4 separate regions of the Homo sapiens genome follow, and all the other regions are linked to region 1. Evidence: promoter capture Hi-C in 16 types of primary human blood cells and fetal thymus (Javierre and others, 2016). All regions are on one chromosome and are shown on one strand. Each heading gives the region's core, a stretch centred on a gene start or on the middle of the fragment in contact. The rest is flanking DNA. Distances are from core to core; before and after follow the strand shown. Region 1 holds the start of POMK (protein O-mannose kinase). Region 2 has its middle 4.6 kb from the start of CHRNB3. Region 3 has its middle 170 kb from the start of POTEA. Region 4 has its middle 150 kb from the start of POTEA.

Region 1 (3,504 bases), core at 421-2,920:
AGAACTCAGCAAGGAGAGCTGCTGGTTGGTTTCTATCTTTGTTTGTTTGAGACGGAGCTTTGCTCTTTTGCCCAGGCTAGAGTGAAGTTGTTGGGGAAACCAGCCCCACACCACCCGGCGGGTACCCCGAGTCCAGCGAAGACAAAGGAATTAGAATAAGAGTTTAAAAGGCGGGTCCGGGGGACCGGAGCGTTGGAGGCTTGCTCACGGCCCCGAGCTCTCGGCCTCCACCCAATTTATTGGTGTATATTCACACTGTTGTGCAACCATCACCCCCATCCATCTCCAGGACTTTACCATCTTCTCACACTGAAACTGTGCACCCGTTAGTATTTTTCATGGCTATGTGGATGTAATATAATTTCTTTCAGAAACCCCTATTGTTATACATTCAGGTTTCTTTTTTTCTCTATTATAAATATCTTTTATCAGCAATGCTTCAGCAAGATCTCTTGTGCATACATCTTGCAGACATATTATTTCTTTTTCTTTTTTTTTTTTTTTTTTTTTGAGACGGAGTCTCGCTCTGTCACCCAGGCTGGAGTACAGTGGCGCGATCTCGGCTCACTGCAAGCTCCGCCTCCCGGGTTCACGCCATTCTCACGCCCGCCACCATGCCCGGCTAATTTTTTGTATTTTTAGTAGAGACGGGGTTTCACCGTGTTATCCAGGATGGTCTCGGTCTCCTGACCTCGTGATCCGCCCACCTCGGCCTCCCAAAGTCCTGGGATTACAGGCATGAGCCACGGCGCCCGGCCACAGACGTTATTTCTGAAGGATAAATTCCTAGAAATGGATTTGCTAGGGCACGTAGGAGGAATTCCAATTTACACTCACTTGTATGTGTGAGGAAACTTTCAGACTCTACTGTAACGACAGGAGGTATTACCGCTGTTTGTCCATGTGATAGGCAAACGTTTCTGTTAATTTTAATACTGTTTGGATAGCTAGTACCGGCTCAGTTTTTTTAACCCACACCATGTTACTGTCTTGATTCTGGACTTTCGCAGTGTGTCAGTGTAGAAGCAGCTAACGCTTCCGATGTACACAACCTAGACGTTCCATGACCCAGCTGACTTCGATGCTGCAAGCCTCCCTTTCGGTTTCCCGGAGCAAGCGCCCGAGTGCGTGTTGGGCTCCCGGCAGGGCTCCTGGCCGGCCCTCGACGGACTTCCCCGCCTTTGCCCAGTCCTGCCCCTCCGCGGAGGCTTGCCAAGGTCTTGTCTGCTGCGCTTGATGTGTGCAGCTCAGCTTTACTGCGTCTAGGCTAAGCCCCACAGTTTCTTTTACAGAGCGATTGTCCAACTTCAGGCATCTGGGTCCCCGAGTGGCGGGTCTGGGCCGGAGCTGGGAATCAGCCTTTCCAGCAAGGTCCCTGCAGATGCCGCGGGTCTGAGGACTACGCTTTGGAAGGCCTCGCAGTGCGTCTAGATCTGACAGCTGCTCTGCATGAGCCTGGCTCCAGGCTGAAGCAATAGTCGGTCAACACAAAATCGTTCTCCCAAGTTAGGGAAGCAGAAGCCAGACAGGGAGACTGGGTAGGTGCGCGCTGGTACCGCCGCGGCGTTCGCTCCGGCTTCAGTGCACGGCCGGAGGAGGACGCCAGGGGGCAGCAGCGCCACGCTCACCCGCCCAGGACGCGCTTCCGAACGCGCAAGCGCAGTAGGCCCAGTGCGTGCTGGCCCGGGGTGGCAGGAGCCGCAGAGGCTTGGGCTGCAGGTAGGTGCTGCGGCGAGGGGTGAGAGGGCGAAGGGGCGAGGGGGCGTGCAGCTGGGTTTCCCGGGGGACCCTGTACGTGGCCTGGGCCGCACCCCCCGCAGCCCCGGCCGCCTGCCCGCGGCCTGTCCGGAGGCTCCCTAGGAGGCTGCGCTGGGCCTGAGCGGCCGTGTCCACCGCGCCCAGCCCCTATCTCCGCGTCCACCCCTGCGCGGTAGCGGGACGTTAAAGAACCAGAGAAGGGCCCGGCGAGGTGGCTCCAGCCTGTAATCCCAGCGCTTTGGGAGGCCGAGGCGGGAGGATCGCGTGAGCTCAGGCGAGAGCAGCCTGGGCAACATGGCGGAACTTCTGTCTCCGTAAAAAAGCACTTAGCCGGGCGCGGTGGCGCCGCCTATAGTCTTATCTACTCCGGAGGCTGAGGCGGGAGAATGCTTGAACCCGGCGGGGGCGGAGGTTTCAGTGAGCCGAAATCGCGCCACTGCACTTCAGCCTGGGGGCCAGAGTGAGAGGCTGTTTCTATTATTATTACTTTATCATTATTATTATTATTTGAGACGGAGTCTCGCTCTGTCGCCCAGGCTGGAGTGTAGTGGCGCGGTCTTGGCTCCTGGGATTACAGGCGTCCGCCACCACGCCCGGCTAATTTTTGTATTTTTAGTAGAAACGGGGTTTCCCCATGTTGGTCAGGCTGGTCTCGAACGCCTGACCTCAGGTGATCCGCCCGCCTCTGCCTCCCAAAGTGCTGGGATTACAGGCGTGAGCTACTGGGTCCGGCAGAGGCTGTCTCTGTTTAAAAAAACAAAAACCAAACCAAACCAAAACAAAACAAAAAACAAAAAAACCAGAAAGGACCGAGGACTCTGTCTCAGCTCTTTGCCTTTGGGTGTTTATTCTGCACGAGATCATTGTTGCCAGGAGGTGTTAAGTGTAATCATATTCTCTTTTTTTTAGAAAGCAAAATTTCGCTGTTTTGTTGCATAATCTTGTCTTTGCCACCCTTTGCCTTTGCTATAGAACCTTAAGGCTAAATAAGCGTTCAGAATATTTAAAATAATCCTCTTAATGTACCTTGTGCTTTATTGGCGCAATGGAATTCTACTCTAAACTGTATTGGATGACATTACTCTGTGTCTTCCCTAGTTGTAGAAAATATCTTGTAAGTCGGTAAAAACTAGTTTTGTCCCTTTGCTTTTCTTTTCTTTTTAAGCTGTAAATGTGGAGCAGTGGGTCCCAAGCCTTTCTCTATCAATAAGCCTTCCTATCAGTGTCAGAAATGCTTTGCATTTCAGTCGTGCCTGAATTTCTTCTGCCCAACCTGCCCCACCATCTTTATTCCTTAATGTGCAGGCTGTTTTCAGGACCAGTAAATTTCAGTGGTTTTTGCTTACTTCTGGACACGAAAGTTCCTTTAGCCACACAGCCTCATGCTATGCTCTGGGCGGCCTACTCCAGAATATGCCTGTGAAACAAAAAAGCAAATCGGGGTTGAGGTGGGCTGAAGTCTTCTTTAAGAAACCGGCAGTCCCAGGGTACCCCAGCCCAGCCCCTAGCTGACCACGCTGGGTTTGATTTAGTTCAACTCCCGAGCATTGCGGTATTTAGGGGAAGAATGGGCTTGAGGCCAGAAAACTTGGCTCTTCTGTGTATAGTTCAGTGACCTTAGATATATTACTTCACCTCTGACTCAGTTGTCTTATCTGTGAAATGGGAATAACAACAATTACATCCACTTCACAGAATTGGTGTGAAGTTGACAGTGTATAAAAGTCAAATGAATTTTGGGGTATT
Region 2 (3,504 bases), core at 295-2,794, 400 kb before region 1:
ATAGATGTTAATTACTGACTCATTACCTGCAGTCGACCCCAGTGCTGTTAATCAGGGCAAGGCACCCACACACCACCAGTCTGGCCTTCAATAAAGCAGCGCTTTGAGCTTCCAGCAGGGTTTGTTGGGGGGTGGGGGGATCCCAGGCCTGTCCTTCTCTGCTCCCTCCTGATCTTCCTCCCCACACTGTTCTTAGTTCAGCAGTCCCGAGGCTGATCTTTCAAATTCAGCCCTTACTCCTTGCTCAGGGATCAGATTCAGCCCCTACTCCTTGCCCAGGGATTGCCTTTGCTCTGATTTACAGACGTGGCCCCAGCAGTTTGATGGCAGCCCTCTGTCCCCTCAGCTCTGGGCGTCCATCTGCTGTGGACACTGGGGTGGCTGACCGGGGCCAGAAGCCCAATACACCCGCAGCCTGTTTGGCCCATCCGCACCCAGAGTTGCTGGGACAAAGCTTCTTCAAACCCAAAGCCTATCGTGGTGGAAAAGCAGACTTTAGTGCCTGGCCAGTCTGAGCAGGACACTTCCTGGTCCTCCGACCAGGCTGCAGCCCTGAGGAACGGTGGCGGCGGCGAGGACAAAGTGTGGACGCTCCTGTCAGTCAGACAAGATGAGGGGAAGCCTCAAAAAAGAAACAACGACTGAAGGATGAAAGGAGAGGCGAGGCGCCCCTCTTCAACCAGGGGTCCCGTGCTGCACTCCGCGCCCCTCCCAGTGCCCCCCATATCTCCGGGATCTTCCTGGTCACGGGCACCCTCCTGGCACATGGTGCTTCAGTGTGATCGGGCCCTGCGGCCACTAAGCCTTTCCTCCTGGTCTTTGCGGAGGTTTCACTTGGAAAAGGCGGCCAGCGCGGTCAGGGTCTGGGACCCTGGCTGCTCTCAGAGAGCCCAGGCCCTGTTCCAGACCACCGGATCAGAATTGCAGTGGAAAACAACCAGGAATTCGTCTTTTTCTCTTTCTTTCCTTCCTTCCCTCCCTCCTTTCTTTCTTTCCTTTCTTCTTTCTTGAGACGTACTCTCGCTCTGTCGCCAGTGGTGCGATCTCGGCTCACCTGCAACCTCCGCCTCCCGGGTTCAAGCGATTCTCCTGCCTCGGCCTCCCGAGTAGCTGGGATTACAGGCGCCCACCACCATGCCCGGCTAATTTTCGTATTTTTAGTAGAGACGGGGTTTCACCATGTCGGCCAGGCTGGTCTCGAACTCCTGACCTCAGGTAATCTGCCTGCCTCGGCCTCCCAAAGTGCTGCGATTACAGGTGTGAGCCACCGCGCCCAGCCGAATTCGTGTTTCTTGAAAGCTCGCCAGATGGTTGGGAAGCACAGGGAGGTTTGGGAAACGCTGCTCATGTGATCCATTTAGACGGTTTCTTTCTGTTCGAACGCTTCTTCCCGCGCACACCTGGGTTCCCCCGGGCTGCGGCCCAGCGATTGATTCCAGCTGGGTCCCGGGCACCAACTCTCCCCTTTGAGGAACGCGCGGGCCTTCTCGGCTACAGCTCTTCTGGGTTTGTGCTGCCCTCCTGGCAAGCGGTACGTGGAAGGGCAGAGCTGTTAAACCAACAGCCCATTGCCTTCCAGTGCTTAGTTTGTGATTTACTCGGGCTGTTACTACCTTTTTATTTAAAATTTGAGGAGCAAATACCGTCTGAAGCACACACCCTTTAAAGGTTAAAGGCCTGCAGTGTGAGGAGTGAGCCACCAGAGGGCACCCGAGCCCCACAACTCACCCTGGTCTAAGGCCCCCGCAAGGCCCAGCCCAGGGAGGCCGTGCAGCGCGTCCAGGAGCCTGCGGCTTCTGAGGTCTGATCCCAGGAAAGAATTGGACACTTATTTAAAAGCCGGGTACGGTAGCTCACGCCTGTAATCCCAGCACTTTGGGAGGGCGAGGTGGAAGGATCTCTTGAGCTCAGGAGTTCAAGACCAGCCTGGGCAACATGGCAAGGCCCTGTCTCTGCCTAAAAAATAAAAGCCATGGTTTTCCCATCTCTACCAATAGTGAGAGGTGTGGCTATTGAAAAAATGTCATTTGTGTGGATAGAGCCCAGGAAGAAAAAGGGTTGGCTGATTGGATTAAAGTGTTATCCTGCCCAGTGGTGGATGTAATAAGATTTAAACCAAAACAATTACCTCTAGAGTGAAATTTTAGGCATCAAGAGATGAGAGGTTATTTAGGAGGGCAGTGAGAATTTCAAATTCAGATACTTTGGATCCTGAATCCAGACCTTCTGAATCCTGTGAACGCTGACAGCATCCCTGCTCCCTCCCACAAAACCTCCCTACTGGTAGTGAGAAGAGGATCGGAGTATTTGAAATGCTGGCTGGCTTAGAGCCAGGCAGGCTACAGCAGGAATGACTGAGGTTAGACATAAGGAAGGCCCCGAGGAAGGGAGCACTGGTAAACCCTGATGGGTGACTGAGGAAGGGGGAGCTCATGGACCTCCAGAAGGCAGGGAGTGTGTTCTCTCCATGATAAACTGGCACACTCTGGTTAGTGGGATTGCTTATTAAGTATCATGGTACAGAGACGGTGAGAGCACTGGGCTGTGGGAGGTGTGGTCCCAGCCCCAATCCCGCCCCCACCTCACTGTGACTTCACCTCCCCAGGTGTTGGTGAGGAGCAGGTAACTCACAAGTAAGCTTTTTATAGAGGAAAGACAGTTCCCTTAGACTTGTTTTTTTTTGTTTTTTGTTTTTGTTTTGTTTTGAGACAGAGTTTCGCTCTTGTCCCCCAGGCTGGAGTGCAAATGGCGCTATCTTGGCTCACTGCAACCTCCACCTCCCGGGTTCAAGCGATTCTCCTGCCTTAGCTTCCCAAGTAGCGTAGCTGGGATTACAGGCACGGGTTGCCACGCCCAGCTAAGTTTTGTATTTGTAATAGAGATAGGGTTTCACCATGTCGGCCAGGCTGGTCTCAAACTCCTGACCTCCTGTGATCTGCCTGCCTCGGCCTCCCAAAGTGCTGGGATTATAGGCGTGAGCCACCGTGCACAGCCAGGCTTCTTTTTTTCTCATCTAAACTCCTTGCTTTTTAATCTTTTCTCATAAGTCTTCCTTTCTAGATCCCGGGTCTCTCGATGTCCCCACAATAAACATATTTAACTTCCTAACTGTGTTGTCCTAAACAAAACAGTGCCCTAAGACGGCTCCAGACAGGCTGGGGTGCTGCTAGGAGTGCCATTCGTAGGGTGACCAAGTGACTGTCAGTATCATGTAGTTGTATTCTTTGCAGTTAAGGCAATTAATTAAATAAATACCTCAATGTGATTTTGTTTTTCTAACTGTAAAAAGATATAGAAATAAAATAATAAAGCAAAAAGACATTTTGTCCCAATTCACATAAATGTGGCCAAGAACTAAGCCAATCTATCTTACCAGCATGGGCCCAGCACCCCACACTTCTGAGGTCGCTGGGTATTGTGATTCTGTCCTGCATGGTAGATAAGCGGGTACGGTTTCACACTGGAAGGGACCTTGGCAATTGGGCTGGCTCTCTTATTTTTGTT
Region 3 (3,504 bases), core at 649-3,148, 370 kb after region 1:
AGATTGCAATTATAGATGATGCAATGAAAGATGAAGCCGAAGCATGGTTGCTACATCTAACCTGAAGTGCATGATGACAATGCTAATTTTGTGGCCTCAAACATAATAAAAACCAGTGCATCCCTCACCTGCATGTTTACTCAGAAAGCATTTAGTGAAGGCTTACCATACTCAAAGCACTATAAAAATCTTCCTAGGAGAAACAGATATGGCACCAAGGGACAGTGACTGATTTCAGGTTCATGATATATTAGCTGCACCCTGGTTAGCATTATTCACTCTCCACAACCAGGAAATGTAGTTTGACAGTGGCCTTTCTGTTCAGTTTATTTATACTTTCTCATGTTCAATTTTTATTTTAATCAGTACAATTTTTTAAAGAAGCCTAACCAAAACTAAGAAAGAAGGGTATGGCTTTTTAGAAAGCAAAGACAAATAGCAGGTTAGGAATTAAAATGTCCACGTAGAATTTACTGATATATAAATCATTGTATTAGCCAAGATTCTTTTCATTGCAAATGACAAACCTTTGAATACATTTACTTTAGACCAAATGGAAAGTTTACTTGTCTGTAGAGCCCACAGGAATGGTTAAATAATATGAGCAGGGAAACCATGATAAAAAGAAATTTTGTGGCCAGGCGTGGTGGCTCATGCCTGTAATCCCAGCACTTTGGGAGGCCAAGATGGGCAGATCACAAAGTCAGGAGATCGAGATCATCCTGGCAATCATGGTGAAACCCCATCTCTACCAAAAATACAAACTACAAAAAAAATTAGCCACGCGTGGTGGTGGGTGCCTGTAGTCCCAGGTACTTGGGAGGCTGAGGAAGGAGAATGGCATGAACCCAAGAGGCAGAGCTTGCAGTGAGCTGAGATCGTGCCATTGCATTCTAGCCTGGGCGATTGAGCGAGACTCCAACTCCAAAAAAAAAAAAAAAGAAAGAAAGAAATTTTGTAAGGATTTGAACTGTGGACTCAAATGCCAACAATGCTGTCTGTATCTCTCTTTGATTGGTTTCTGTCAGAATACCAGCTCAATTTTTATCACACTCAGTATATTTATATTGTGGAAAATATAAACATTTATTGTTCACAATTTTATAGTCTATGACTTGAACAACCAAATAGATTTCTTCATTGGCCTCATGGATACTACACTTGCTAAAATAATCCCCTCTAGTAAATGTCATGGGCCACTTAGTGTATCGCAAAAATTCTCCAATAATAAAATACATAAATAAAAGTAATATTTTGGTTGTCATCTTAGTCCATTTGCACTGCCATACCAAAATACCACGGACTAGGTGACTTATAAACAAGTTTAAAAACTCACAATAAGTGACCAGATTTTTTTCTCTTAGACCAATGACTTGCAACCAAGTAAGAATGCAGTGTCTTTCACTGGAGCCTCTTGGTTGGAGCTGAGGGAGAAGCACTTTCTTAAAGAAGGGGTTGGAGGTGTGAAAAATAAAAACAACCTACTAGATTATGTGTTTGCAGAACAATATTCATCATGTTATTCAGTTCCTCTCATAAAAAGATTCAAATGATAAATGCTCATAATTTAAAACTGAAAAAGGACTTTTTTCCCCAAAGCTATTTTTATTGGGCAATAAAATGACAGAGCCCATTATTTTTCCTATTTTTGCTGTTGCTACCAGAAGCTTCAGAATTAAATCATAATATAACATCAATAACCAACTTGCATCAGGTTTATGGAAACCATTTCCACTATTTTCTATAAGGTTTTTAAATTTTTCTAATTTTTAAATTATTTCTGTGCCTTTAAAATGCTTTTGGATTACTTTCAGAAACAGATGAAGAAAAATAAGTAAGTAATTGACAAAGAACTCACAACATTGGCCTCATGGGTACTACACTTGCTAAAATAATCCCCTCTAGTAAATGTCATGGGCCACTTAGTGTACGGCAAAAATTCTCCAATAATAAAATAAAATGCATAAATAAAAAGAATATTTTGGTTGTCATCTTAGTCCATTTGGACTTCCATACCAAAATACCATGGACTAGGTGACTTATAAACAACATAAATTTACTTCTCACAGTTCATGATTTAAAATACAAATGTCATTAGGTCATAAACACAGTAGAATACCTTCAACCACTCAAGCTTAATTGGTATGTTCCATCTCACAGACAACATGCTTAAATACATTATTTAATATTAATTATTACAGACTGGTTTAAAATATAAAATCTTCAAGAAATACTTTAATTTCCCTTGGTGATGGAAAGTCTATCCCTCTGAAATATAACACCTTCCAATTTCCTGTCTCTCTACACAATGCAGCTGTGGGGATTTTTGAGAAAGTGACAAGAAATGTCTTCTTGTCCTTGTTGACAGGGTTTTATGGTGATTGAATAATATTTTCAGTTTAAATATGTAAAACACATATTACTTCAGTAAAATGCTTAGTACTTGAAACCTACCAGAAAAAATGAAGGTAATATAAATCAGTGCATAGCAGTTTGAGTTGAATTGTGATTTAAATTCTCCTGCTCTCTCATAGAGGAAAAACTGTGTAGACAGTAGTTTTACATGGACCTCATCCCAGTTTCACCATGTCTGATAACAAAACTAATGCAAAGATGCTTCTAGTCATAGGCCTGTGTCCTCTAAAAATAAGAAAAATTAATTGTGACTGTTCATCTTTCCAAGACACCCCATTCCTATGCTTCTGATATGGGTAAATATTTGTAAGAGTATTAGCAACAAAACATGAATAAGCCCCACCTCCACTCTCAAAGGTCTAAAGCTGGAAAGGAGTAGTGAAATTGAAAAGAGACTAAAATCTATTAAACATTTACTATAAACAAAACACTGTGTTAAGTGTTTGGATTATATATAATTCCTGAGTTTATAGAGACTGATTCTTGTAAAGAACATCATTATTTAAATTTAAAAATAAGTATAATAAATGTATAAATAAGAAATAAATATTATTATAAGTTTTTCTATCTGGGGTCAGTGAACTAAAGCTCATAGACAATCTCATCTACAAACCATTTTCATGTAGACCACAAACTAAGAACGGTTTATTAAATTTTTAAGAATTGCATTAAATGGTTATATGGGTACCTGCATAATATATTTGATTTTGCCTAATGGCTCACAAAGCCTAAAATACGTTCTATCTGGCCCTTTACAAAAATAGTTTATAGATCCTATTCTATAGAGATTTGACCTAGTCAGAATAGTAAATAGTATAGATGAATGACAAATTAAGAATATAAATAAAACATTTTATTAATATATTTTTATCAGTAATTTCATAGAAAAATATACACTCAGAATTAATGTGAAAATAGATTACTTAGTTATTTGGCATATGCAACTAAGTGGAAGGCCATATAGTATGCTGGATTCTTGTCGTGTGTGACGTGGGGTCTTGGATATTAGGCTTTTTGACATATATCTATTGCAGAAGCAATTTTTATGGAAATAAAGTATATTAGTCTGTGCTCACACTGTTATAAAGA
Region 4 (3,504 bases), core at 459-2,958, 350 kb after region 1:
ACCTTATGACATTAGATTTATTAATACACTTGCTTTCTCCCCACCACAATCAGTTCTTTGTCCCTATTAGATCATACACTTCATCAGTAAGGGCAAGTCTCACTCATATTTCCATCCATCCATGCTGCCTTAAACATGCTTTCTAAAGTCAGGAACTAAAAAATAAAAAGAAAGAATATCTTTGCAGCTGCTCAGAAAGAAAAGAAAATAGGACATTAGTTTCCTGTCTGTGTTCTCAATAGTAGGATCGGACATCAGTTAACAATGCATTCTTTATTTTTAGCGAACATCTAGACAGAGAAAACTGTCTTTTCCCTTCTCCTCGTTATTTTTCCTCTTTCTTCTTCCTCCTCTTCCTTCTTCCTTTTTCTTCCTCCTTTTTTCATCTTGTCCTCTTCCTCCTACTTACCCTTCCCCCTTTATCTTCCTTTGTCCCTCCTCTCTTCTCACTTTCTTTTTCTCACTAATTATAGTCTCATTTAAACTTTTTTTGTATGCTTAGTCTCATCTTTAAAATGGGGAAACATATATGTGTCATTATGAAATGTTTTTTGCTTTAAATTGTTAAAGATCAGTAAGGGAGTCTTTTTTCTTCACCTTTGAAATTGTAGTGCCAAAACTCAGACAAACCAGTGATGTTCCAAAAGTTGATGGGAGAAGAACCCAAACATTTGATTCTTCCTTCATTGATTTTTCTTTCATTGGTAAGATATTTTAGTGAAATATTATATGTTGAATTGTCAATAACAAAAGCCATCTACAAGCATTCTTTTTCCTCTTTTAGCCATAGCAACAAACATGCCATAAAATGGAAGTTATAGAAATAAGGTTAAGTGAATTAAACTAGGTTTTGTAATAAGCTCACTTCTTCCTTAGACTCAGGTCAGAAGACATTTAAAAGAAGAGGATCTATCATAAACTGGGGCTGTTGCTGGGGTTCTAGCACTTGCCTGGACAATGTGTCTGCACCATCAACATCACCTATGCCTGGACAGCTCTTTGGAGTTTCTCTGCCAAATATGTGTGAGAATGACAATCTGCTCAAACCTGTCCTGGTAAGGCTCACTTGACCTGTTAGCTAATGGGAAAGGGGGTTTGGGAAAGGAGAGCTCTGAGAGGTAAATATGTCACCAAATGGAAAAATTATAGACGCCACTGTCTTTGGCTAAAAATCTGATTTAACTACTGTAGAATCATAAGGAAGACATATAGGGAGAGATCATATAGTTTCCTGATTTCAGGAAAGACCCACATAAACCTACTCAGATAAATTAGAATTTTCTCTTTAGACAGAGAATTCACATTCTCTCACACAAATCCTTTCTTCAACTCCACATTGTTATGAAAGTCCTCTTTTATCAGTGTAGCAGCAGAGACTACTCAATGTTATGCTTAAGTTTTAAAAACTTTTATTATTTATATGTCAAGTACTTAAGCATAAAGGTACGTTCCCTGGCATTCATTTATCTTTTGTCTGTAGAATGGGTCAGATGAAAACCACTGAGTTATTTCCAGTTGACATATTAAAGAATCACTACTAAGCAGCATTTATTGAGTATTCATTATCCTTCAGGTGTTATACTAGATGTGTGGCATTTAATGCTATATTGTTCATCTATAAGTGCCAGACACTCATCTAGCCACCTTATTATTTATCCTTCACAGCAAACGTAGGAGGTGGTTCTTACTATGTCACCATCTCTACTTCATGGTCTGTGTTTTCAAAAGCCTCAGTACTTTACTCAAGGATACATAGTAGCTAAGTGGCCTAACTAGGTTTTAAATCCTACAGATTGCTTGTCTCCAAAACCCATTCTCTTCCTGCACTGTAAGCAGAGGACATACTGATACAAAGAAAGCAAAATTAGAGAACACTTAAAATCCACTCTCTTAGCCATTTTTAGAAATGCAGTACCTTGTTATTGAGTATAGTAATCATGTTATTTAATAGAGCACCTGACCTTACTTCTGCTATCTAACTGAACTTTTGTATCCTTTGACCAATATCTCCCCAACCTCACCACCACCCCAGCCCCTGGTAACCACCATTGCGCTCCCCAAAAAAATTGACTTGAATCTTTCTAGCTGTTCTTTTAGTCCCAATCTTTTAGTACTTTTACCCTAGCACAACCCCATAGCCTCTGGTAGCCAAAGGGGGTAAGTATGTGCCAAAAAGGATAAGTATTCCCTTGTCTGTATGTGTGAAATGCCATTTTGCTTATTTCCTTTGTTTCCCTATTGGATGTACTTTTCTTTCTTAATCAAAAAGGACCCCTCACCAAAGGTGTCTTCAGGAAAGCAGCCAGTTTAAAATCCTGCAGAAAATGAGAAATTAAATTCTGGAGGTGAAGTAAACCTAGATTGTGAATCTATTTTTGAGATAGCCTCTGTATTGAAGGTAAGAAAAATTTTCTTTTAATCTACCTGATGGTATAGCTCTGGAGCAAGAAAAAGGTGTTTTTATTTTTTTTATGAACATTATTTATATTTGCAAAGACCCATAATCAATTTATAACTTTAACACTAAAAGAGTGTTACAAACACTTTTATAAAGTCAACATTGGACTTTAAAAACTACCACCAGTGATATGACATATCAAATATGTTTAAAAATTTTTTTTCCCACACTAACCTCATCTTTACTTCTGCAACCCCATGTAAAAAATAAAACTTTGTTAAAATAATAAAAAGACACACACATTTACCAAAACAAACATCATGCCTATTAGTATTTTCTGTCTTGGCCAGGCATGGTGGCTCACACCTGTAATCCCAGCGCTTTAGGGGGCTGAGGAGGGGCAGATCAGTTGAGGTCAGGAGTTTGAGAACAGCCTGGCCAATAATGGTGAAACCCCATCTCTGCTAAATATACAAAAATTTGCATGGTATGGTGGCTCACGCCAGTAATCCCAGCTACTTGGGAGTCTGAGGCCTGGGAATCGCTTGATTCTTGGAGAGGAAGGTAACAATGAGCCGAGGTCACACCACTGTACTCCAGCCTGGGTGACAGAGCAAGACTCTGTCTCAAAAAAAAAAAAAAAAAAAAAAAATTCTGTCTCACTACCTTCATAATAAAGGCAGTTTTCAAAACTAAACTTTTGTTGCATGTTTGAAAATAGTTACAGAGGTTTGCCATAATAAACATTTGCCTCACAACTGAAACAAAAAAAATTGCTGAGATCACTGAAATTTTTGTTTACATAACCATTACGCCCAAAAATACTCTTTTCCTTGTTCCCTAATGCCTTTTACTCTAAAAGTGGAGTGGGAACAATCTCAGCATCTGAGTTCCTTTTACCTTTACCACATTTGATATTCTTTGTGGTTCTTACCCTTTAGCCATGGCTACAAAAGTCACATATATAGTTACAGAGATAGAGTTCTAATTTTTTTTCTGCCCCACATTCTTGCAAATGCCCTACCTTTTTGGAAAACCTCAAGTCAAAACTAGCTTAAAGCAGAGATTTTGACCCTACAGTATCTTCTGCAGACCTGCCTCAGGCT

The links. Contacts are between HindIII fragments. The CHiCAGO score rates a contact against its expected background, and 5 or more counts as called.
Region 2: a fragment that was not itself captured here is called in contact with the fragment with the promoter of POMK in region 1 in 1 of 17 cell types (fetal thymus); the score reaches 5.1 in fetal thymus.
Region 3: a contact is called between a fragment that was not itself captured here and the fragment with the promoter of POMK in region 1, in 2 of 17 cell types (total B cells and naive B cells). The highest score is 5.2, in total B cells.
Region 4: a fragment that was not itself captured here is called in contact with the fragment with the promoter of POMK in region 1 in 3 of 17 cell types (naive B cells, total B cells and M1 macrophages); the score reaches 11.0 in naive B cells.

Annotation. Positions count from the first base shown.
Region 1 is chr8:43,091,845-43,095,348 of GRCh38, forward strand. POMK (protein O-mannose kinase) reads left to right here and starts at 1,671. Exons shown (of 5, transcript NM_032237.5): 1 at 1,671-1,719. RefSeq lists enhancers at 635-1,541, 1,542-2,447 and a silencer at 1,699-1,908. The HindIII fragment of the contact is 4,326 bases long and covers 1-3,504 here.
Region 2 is chr8:42,690,969-42,694,472 of GRCh38, forward strand. No RefSeq gene overlaps it. Among named protein-coding and RNA genes, the nearest start is that of CHRNB3, 4.6 kb to the right of the region's middle. The HindIII fragment of the contact is 2,184 bases long and covers 453-2,636 here.
Region 3 is chr8:43,462,746-43,466,249 of GRCh38, forward strand. No RefSeq gene overlaps it. Among named protein-coding and RNA genes, the nearest start is that of POTEA, 170 kb to the left of the region's middle. The HindIII fragment of the contact is 467 bases long and covers 1,666-2,132 here.
Region 4 is chr8:43,442,027-43,445,530 of GRCh38, forward strand. It overlaps the pseudogene LOC100420534. Among named protein-coding and RNA genes, the nearest start is that of POTEA, 150 kb to the left of the region's middle. The HindIII fragment of the contact is 8,326 bases long and covers 1-3,504 here.